Linked DNA regions of Homo sapiens: all the other regions are linked to region 2. The links are contacts of gene promoters, found by promoter capture Hi-C in human tissues and cell types (Jung and others, 2019). All regions are on one chromosome and are shown on one strand. The core of a region is centred on a gene start or on the middle of the fragment in contact, and the rest is flanking DNA. Distances in the headings are between cores, read along the strand shown. Region 1 overlaps PITPNC1 (phosphatidylinositol transfer protein cytoplasmic 1). Region 2 holds the start of HELZ (helicase with zinc finger). Region 3 overlaps PITPNC1 (phosphatidylinositol transfer protein cytoplasmic 1).

Region 1 (2,700 bases), core at 77-2,576, 360 kb before region 2:
CCCCGGGAGGACTCGCCACAGGCCGGAGCAAGCTCTGTTCCCAGGCTGGACAGCGGCTGCCAGCTGGCAGGCGGCGTGAGTCCAAGGTCTTGCAGACCATGGAAAATCCGTAAACGGTTCAGGACAAAGACTTGCAGAGCTGTCTCCTTCTCCATGCAGGGAGCTATGCTGAGAAGTTTTGGCTGTGGGTATTTTGAGATGTCCTTTGGCACTTGATCTCAGCTGAGGAAGGCACATAGGGACTATGAGATAGGAAAAATAAATTATTCAGACATAGGGCTCTAGGAATAGAGCTCTCGGTTCAGCTTTGCTCCTGCCAAGGAGCCCCTGGGTTTATCATTAGCCTTGTTTTATTTTATTTTATTGTTTTGTTTTATTTTATTTTATTTTGAGACAGAATCTCACCCTGTTGCCCTGGCTGGAGTGCAATGGCGCGATTTCGGCTCACTGCAACCTCTGCTTCCCGGTTTCAAACGATTCTCCTGCCTCAGCCTCCTGAGTAACTGGGACTACAGGCGCATCCCAACGCACCCAGCTAATTTTTTATTTTTAGTAGAGATGGGGCTTCATGATGTTGGCCAGGCTGGTCTCAAACTCCTGGCCTCAGGTGATCCGTCCGCCTCAGCCTCCCAAAGTGCTGGGATTACAGATGTGAGCCATGCCCAGTCATATTTTAATTTTTTTTGGAGAGGGAGTCTCACTCTGTTGTCCAGGCTGGAGTGCAGTGGCAAGTTCTCAGCACACTGCAACCTCCGCCTCCTGGGTTCAAGTGATTCTTGTGCCTCAGCTTCCCAAGTAGCTGGGACTACAGGTACATGCTTTCACGCCTGGCTAATTTTTGTATTTTCAGTAAAAATGGGGTTTCACCATGTTGGCAAGGCTGGTCTCGAACTCCTGACCTCAAGCTATCCACCCGCCTGGGCCTCCCAAAGTGTTGGGATTACAGGCGTGAGTGACCGTGCCTGGCCTAGGACTGTTTTATTTTTAACTTATTTCTTTTGCTTTTGGGTCTTTGAGGCCAATCTCTCTGGTGTTCCTACGCAGATCCTCTTTCTCTGAGAATCTGCTTTCATAAGAAACAACCCCTCCTTCATATGTCACCAGCATCCTGCTATTAGCCTACCAGCCTCCCCTTCTAATCCAGGGGAAGCTGACTTGACCCAGAATTGAGGCAACCCAGCTCTGCCTTCCATCCATGTCTGAAGATGTGTAAAAACTAGACACATGGCTGGAAAGCCATTTTCCCTCACTATTCCAGTTGATAAACACCCATTATATGGCATTACATCTGAGAAAATTCCTAGTAATAAAAGTTTTTGAAAAAAATCAGGTAAGGGATGTTATTACCACGATAATTCCTTTCAGAATATTTGCCTCCCTGTAAAACTTGGAAGGAGAAAAATATTCCTTTGACAATGCTTCTTTAAGATGGGAGTGACTTATTTCCCTTTCCTCACTGTGAAAATTTAAACTTTCAACCAGACTTTAGAGCAGCTGACTCCATGTACAGTTTTTTTTTTTTTTTTAAATCTATGAGACAGAGTCTCGTTCTGTTGCCCAGGTTGGAGCAGTGGCACCATCTTGGATCTTGGCTTACTGCAGCCTCTGCCTCCCTGGTTCAAGTGATTCTCCTGCCTCAGCCTCCCAAGCAGCTGGGATTACAAGCATGCACCACCAAGCCCAGCTAATTTTTGTATTTTTAGTAGAGACAGGGTTTCACCTTGTTGGCCAGGCTGGTCTCAAACTCCTGACCTCAAATGATTCGTCCGCCTCAGCCTCCCAAAGTGTTGGGATTACAGGTGTGAGCCACCGCGCCTGGCTCTACCTACAGTCTTATTTCATTTTTAGAGCCAAAGACAGCAGATTAGTTACATGAGAGCACGTGCTCCAAGGCTAAACTAACCTAGAATTGAGTCCTAGATCTGACACTTGCTAGCTGTGAGGCTGTGCAGACCGCTGGCTCTCACTAAGCCTCAGTGTCAGTTGTAAAATGGGGATATTAATATCTGTGAAGATTTCATGAGACTGTGGCTATCTAAAGACAGGTTGGCAAGATGCTGGGCTCATGTAAATATTCCTGCCAATATCCGTCTGACCATCACCATTATTATGAGTCAATATCCACATGGCTGCCATCATGATTACTTCTTACTCTTGAAGATGTTACTTCCTAGCCGGGGCCTGCTAGTCTAATCTATACCCTCTTTGCCTTGCTTTTGATGAGAAAAGGGGCACAGGCGAGCCTGCTTGCTCCAGCTGTACTTTGCAAAAAGGCCATTAGATGGGGCCCTGCCATAATCACTCAAGTCAGCAAGTGGCTCTGACTTTGAAACCTGGGGAAAAGGTGTGAGAAGACAATTGAATCCTGTGAGTACTGCTCAGATTGATCAAATGAACCCACTGGCTCTGGTGTAAGAGGTGACCCAGGGGCCTGGTGTGGTAGCTCATGCTTGTAATCCCAGCACTACGGGAGGGTGAGGCAAGAGGATCACTTGAGCCCAGGAGTTGGAGACCAGCCTGGGAAACATGGCAAAACCCCATCTCTACAAAAAAAAAATATCAAAATTAGCTGGGCATGGTGGTATGCACCTGTAGTTCCAGCTACTTGGGAGACTGAGGTAGGAGGATCACCTGAGTCCAGGAGGTCGAGGTTGCAGTGAACCAAGGTTGTACCACTGCACTCTAACCTGGGCGACAGAG
Region 2 (2,700 bases), core at 34-2,533:
TTTGGGTATCTCCTTGTTGTAAAAACTTGCTTGGAAAAAAAAAAAAGCAACTGGAGCAGGCCTCCAAAGACAGCAAAGCAGGGACCAGAGGCTCTGCGGAGAGCGCGGGAGGAGGCTGACCAAGGGGCCTCCGTTGCTGGGGGGACCTGGGCGGCTGGACGCCGGGGTCAGTACGCTGCTCGCCCCGCGCAGCCGAAAGCGGGCGTGGTGTCGCGGGGAGAGGATGCCCGGCAGCAGTGTGGCCGGCGGGCTGGGGGTACTCGCCCGGGTCAGAGACCTCAGCCCGCGCCAAGGCGCCCCACACTTTCCAGCGCAGCGGGTCGCAGCCCGGAGACGCCGGGCGTCCCCACCTCCAGCCTCCCGAGCTGCAGCGGCGCCCGCGGTTCTCCCCCGACCCGCCAGGTGGACCCGGACTGGCGCACCCTGCTTTCCGCCCGGGACCCTCCCCCGAGCCCTGGCTGCCTCCGCGCCCCGCCCCGCCCGGAGCCCGCAGCCGGCGCCCCGGATTACCTGCCCCGGAGTCACAGTCCGCAGCCCGGACGCTCCCAGGGTGGCTCCGCGGAGCCTGGAGCCACATTCCTAGGGGAGGGGTCCCCACCTAGAGGGTCGCGGATCACGTTACCCGCCCGGAGGAGGAGACCGCGGGACACAGAGTAAACAAGGGGTAAAAAGTTGCATTTGGCTCAATTTTTTTTTTTAAATCGTGCTTCGACGCTGGTGGACTCGGGGACACGGCGTCCTCCCAGTTCCCGGAGCCCAACGGCCCCGGGGCGGTTTCCCAGGGCAGAGGCACCTCTCCGGGCGGCGGGTGCGGAGCTGGTCTGCGCGGCCTCTGAAGGCGACCCCGGCCGCTCGCGGGCTTCCTGGAAGCGCGGCCGCAGGAGCAGAAACGCTCACATCCACGCGCACAAATAAATCCGCGAGCAGCTCCGCGCCGCGCCGCGGGCGGCAAGGAAACCTCGGGTTGATTCAATGCAGACGCGGGGCGTCTGCCCGGGCAGGAACGCGGCGAGGCGAGAGGACCGGGCGTGGGGGCAGGGAGGCCGGGGCAGGAGAAAGGGAGAAAACCCCAAAGCCACGTTTTAAAAATGCGGGTGAATTTTCAATGCCGTCAGCCCGGGGGAGGGGAAGGGGCCAGCTGCGGGCGCCGGGGTCGGCAGTCCACCCGGGGCAACTTTCCGGGCGGGAGGCGCGGCCGGAGGGGGCGGCGCCGGCGGCGGGAGGCGGGAGTCGGGGGCCGGGGGGAGTCACTTTAAAGGCTCTTTCTTACCCATAATGCTTTGTGGGGACGTTGACAAGTGGATCCAAGATGGCGTAGAAAGTAATGACAGGTAAGTCCTGACTTCCCCCTTCTCTGCTCCTGGGGCCGCTCCGCGAGCTCCCGGAGCTCTCCGGGGAGGGGACCCGACTCCCCTCCGGTGTCCCGGACCCCGGGCGCGGCGGCCCCGGGGCAGGCTGGGGGCCTGGGCGGCCCGCGGCTGGGCCTGGGAAGCGCGGCTCTTCGAGGCGAGGCCCGGACGCTGGGGCTGTTTACAGCTTCTTCCCCTACTTAGTCCCCTTCCCCTCCGCTGGGGCCCGCAGCGTCCTGGGCCCTGGCAGGAGAGGGGGCCTTGCACGCCTGGCCCGGGAGCCTGCGGGAGGTTTCTCCGGCCCAGAGCACTCTGGGAGGGGGACTCGAGCCTCCCGGCACGTTCCCCTCCTCCGGGTCGCGGCTGGGGGTGGGGAGCGTGCGGGCCTCCCACGCCCCGCTCGATGCCCCCCCTCAGGCCTCGGACTTCCACCGGGTGGGGTGGGGGCTGGAGCGGGGGCGTGGGGAAAAGTGGGTCAGGCGTGCGCCCCCTCCCTCCCCCGCGGAGGGCTCTCGGCCCGAGATTCACTTTCTTCCCCCCTTTCCCCGCCCCCTCCTCGGAAATGCTCTTTGGCCCACAAGCACATCAACAAAAATAAAGATAGGCTCTCTTTTCCTGGAGATTCCTTGAGAGTACTCCAGTACCCTTTTCAAGGGCTCACAGACTGCAGTCTTACCTAGGGAACTTCGATTCCTCTCCCCTAAATTATTGGAGCCTTCTGCACCCTCGCCTTTGCTGAGAAATCTTCAGACAGGGCTGGAAGCCAGGGTCCTCTGATTGTTCTTGGATCGGGATCCTCAGGTTTTGTTTGCAGTTCAAAAATTGTCATTCCTTCTCCCTCACAACTTAACACTTCTCAGGCAAATCATTAATATAATAAAAAGTGTAACTTCAGAGACAGTGGATTCCTGGAGCGGGGGAAGGAGGGAGGAGTTGTCTGTCTTGCCTAGTTTGTTCTTAATTTTGCTCTCTCTTAAACTCATATTAATGAAATTTCCTCTCCTTCATTTCTTTATGTTTTTGAAAGTAAGGTCAGTCTGTGTTGAAAAAGATGATTTTATTATGTTTTTGAGTTTTAAGAGCATTGTATAATCTATTCTTTTACCTTACTGAAAGGAAATGTTTTAAGGTCAAAAACCAGACTCATTTGCAAAGCTGCACACTGTACCATTTTTGTAACTTTTTCCATTTTAAATGTAGATGCCCTTTCACTTCAGGCTGATAAAATGTTTGCTACTGATAATGTCTGTTACTGGTGTTGTATGGAAACATCTTTTCTATTTGCCTCAGGATTTGGATGAAGTAATGGATCACTAATGAACTACAGTGCTGGTGAGATGTGTAAGGTGAG
Region 3 (2,700 bases), core at 63-2,562, 400 kb before region 2:
TAGGCAAAGCTTCCCTATGGTGAATGGATAGTAGATGTGATAAGGCATATTGCTCCCGCAGCCCTTGAGTAACAGACTGGGCCTTCTGAGCTCAGGGGTTGGTCATCTTAACCAGGAGCTCCTCCTCAATGTGTCAATCAAAACAAATCACTTTCTCTTTTTTTTTTTTTTTTTTTCTGAGATGGAGTTTCGCTCTTGTTGCCCAGGCTGGAATGCAATGGCGCGATCTTGGCTCACCGCAACCTCCGCCTTCAGGGTTCAAGTGATTCTCCTGCCTCAGGCTCCCGAGTAGCTGGGATTATAGGTGCCCGCCACCATGCCTGGCTGATTTTTGTATTTTTAGTAGAGATGCGGTTTCTCCGTGTTGGTCAGGCTGGTCTCAAACTCCCGACCTCAGGTGATCCGCCTGCCTCGGCCTCCCAAAGTGCTGGGATTACAGGCATGAGCCACCGCGCCTGGCCAAAACGAAACACTTCCTACCTGTCAAGGCATGAAAAAAGATGGGAAGCTCTGCTCTGAGGCCATTTTCCCAAACCTGGTGCATTTACACACTGATTCTTGGGTCCCAGACCAGTTGAGTCTGGTTGGGTTGGTCTAAGGTGGGACCCGGATATCTCCAGTTTTCAAAACCTCCCTGGGTGATGCTGACCTGATTTGGGAACTCTGTTCTAAGGGCCAAGAAGTTCTGGTGTTTTACTTTAATAAGACTAAAAACAGCAGGGGCTGATGTGGCTGGCCCCAGTTATGAGCAACTTGTGTGGACTCATTGCCTGTTTTCTTGAAAGAACAGAGCAGGGCCAGGTGCATTGGCTCACGCCTGTAATCCCAGCACTTTGGCGAGTGGATCACCTGAAGTCAGGAGTTCGAGAGCAGCCTGACCAACGTGGTGAAACCCTGTCTCTACTAAAAATACAAAAATTAGCTGGGCGTGGTGGCGTGCACCTGTAGTCCCAGCTACTCAGGAGGCTGAGGCAGGAGAATCGCTTGAACCCAGGAGGCAGAGGTTGCAGTGAGCTGAAATTGTGACACTGCCCTCCAGCCTGGGTGACAGAGTGAGACTCTGTCTCAAAAAAAAAAAAAAAAAAAAAAAAAAATTACAGAGGGAAGTTCTCCATGAGATGGAACTGAAGAAGAGCTTGTTGTATCTGTTCACTCCTGGCTGAGAGCCTTGGGCCCTTCAGCTCTTGCTTCCTTCTTTGAAAGTCTTAAATGTTAGTTTTCTATAGTACAGCTGTAAGAAGGCTCGTGGCAGACAGAGATAGCATGGCAATACTGCCTTGGGTACCATCCCGGCACTGCAGTGCCACAGATGGCCCAGACTTGGCACAAAACAAACAGCAAATGTAACTTCTAAGGTTTCTTCGAGGTGAAGTAGCAGAGACACGTGCCATCCGGAATTCAGGTTAAACCATAACAGAGGCAATAACACATTTTTTTTGAAAAGTCTCAGCAGCACAAATGGCTGTAACTTCTGCAGGATCTTGCTGAGCCGGCGGAGGATCCCATGATCCTGAGAGCTGGAGCTATTGGTATCACACCTCTGCTCCTGTTCTCCACTCACACCGACAAGGGAAAAGCGACACGCAAACAAACTCCTGTGACGCCACTCACGGTGGCCACTTTCCAAAGACACATGGTTTCCACGGAGCCACCATTCCTGCAACCCATCTGCAGAGCTCGAAGCCAGGGTCAAAGCAGAGAGAAGGGAACACTTATGAAATGCTTACTGTGTGCCAGGGACTGTGCTGGTCACTTTCCATGCCTTGCCTTTGACGTCATCTCACTTCTCCATCCCATCTGTCCATCTGTCCATTCTTTGGAAGGGAGGGAGGGACTCAGACACAGAATTGATGATGATCAAATGCAGTGGCTGTGACCGCCTGGGAGGCTCCCAGAGCCAGGGCCCTCACCACATTAGGGCTGAATCATCTAGACACAGAGCACACAAGTTGGGAATCCCAATTCATAGGTTCTAGGGGTTATCTTTTGCACAGATCCCTCTATGAAAAGCCCAACTGTTTCTCCCTTCCATGAATGTTTTGCTTGGATGAATTCTTCCCTCCCTGGTCTGTTCCTTTTGGGATATAGGGTGATAGGGTGATTTCCCCAAGGGTTCTTTCTTTCTTTCTTTTTTGAGACAAAGTCTCACTCTGTTGTCCAGGCTGGAGTGCAGTGGCGCGATCTCAGCTCACTGCCACCTCCGCCTCCCGGATTCAAGCAATTCTCGTGCCTCAGCCTCCCTAGTACCTAGGACTACAGGTGCGTGCCGCCATGCCCAGCTAATTTTCGTATTTTTAGTAGACAGGGTTTTGCCATGGTCTCGAACTCCTGACCTCAAGTGATCTGCCTGCCTTGGCGTCCCAAAGTGCTGGGATTACAGGCGTGAGCCACTGCACCTGGCCCCCAAGGGCTCTTTCTATTGATTCAATGACCCACAATGCCACAATCAGCAACTGCACTCCTGGCAGAGACTTAGATTCTCTGCTTTTGATCTGGCATTTAGGAATTCATATGCCTTGATTTTGTTTGACCTACTTGGTCTGGCATTTCACTACCAAATTCAATTGGTAGGATTTGCAACTGCTGCTCTGAACACTGAGTTCTGGGGAACATCATTCATGCCAATTACTGCAGCAGTTTAAATGGTTTTTTTCCCCTTGAAAAATTAAAAAAAAAAATGAAAACTCTTTCTCTAGGATG

Evidence for each region. Contacts are between HindIII fragments. The study calls those that stand out against the background at their distance.
Region 1: a fragment that was not itself captured here is called in contact with the fragment with the promoter of HELZ in region 2 in 1 of the 25 tissues and cell types used here (IMR-90 fibroblasts).
Region 3: a contact is called between a fragment that was not itself captured here and the fragment with the promoter of HELZ in region 2, in 1 of the 25 tissues and cell types used here (H1 embryonic stem cells).

The regions. Positions count from the first base shown.
Region 1 is chr17:67,602,769-67,605,468 of GRCh38, reverse strand. The region is part of intron 5 of PITPNC1 (phosphatidylinositol transfer protein cytoplasmic 1); the gene reads right to left. Among named protein-coding and RNA genes, the nearest start is that of NOL11, 110 kb to the left of the region's middle. RefSeq lists an enhancer at 2,079-2,588. The HindIII fragment of the contact is 5,937 bases long and covers 1-2,700 here.
Region 2 is chr17:67,243,779-67,246,478 of GRCh38, reverse strand. HELZ (helicase with zinc finger) reads left to right here and starts at 1,283. Exons shown (of 33, transcript NM_014877.4): 1 at 1,283-1,331; 2 at 2,640-2,695. It overlaps HELZ-AS1 (HELZ antisense RNA 1), which reads right to left and starts at 1,703. Exons shown (of 4, transcript NR_136398.1): 1 at 1,271-1,703. RefSeq lists silencers at 266-465, 476-565, 1,116-1,605, 1,706-1,755 and enhancers at 85-1,071, 1,072-2,059. The HindIII fragment of the contact is 25,130 bases long and covers 1-2,700 here.
Region 3 is chr17:67,642,820-67,645,519 of GRCh38, reverse strand. All of the region lies in intron 6 of PITPNC1 (phosphatidylinositol transfer protein cytoplasmic 1), which reads right to left. Among named protein-coding and RNA genes, the nearest start is that of NOL11, 74 kb to the left of the region's middle. The HindIII fragment of the contact is 6,354 bases long and covers 1-2,700 here.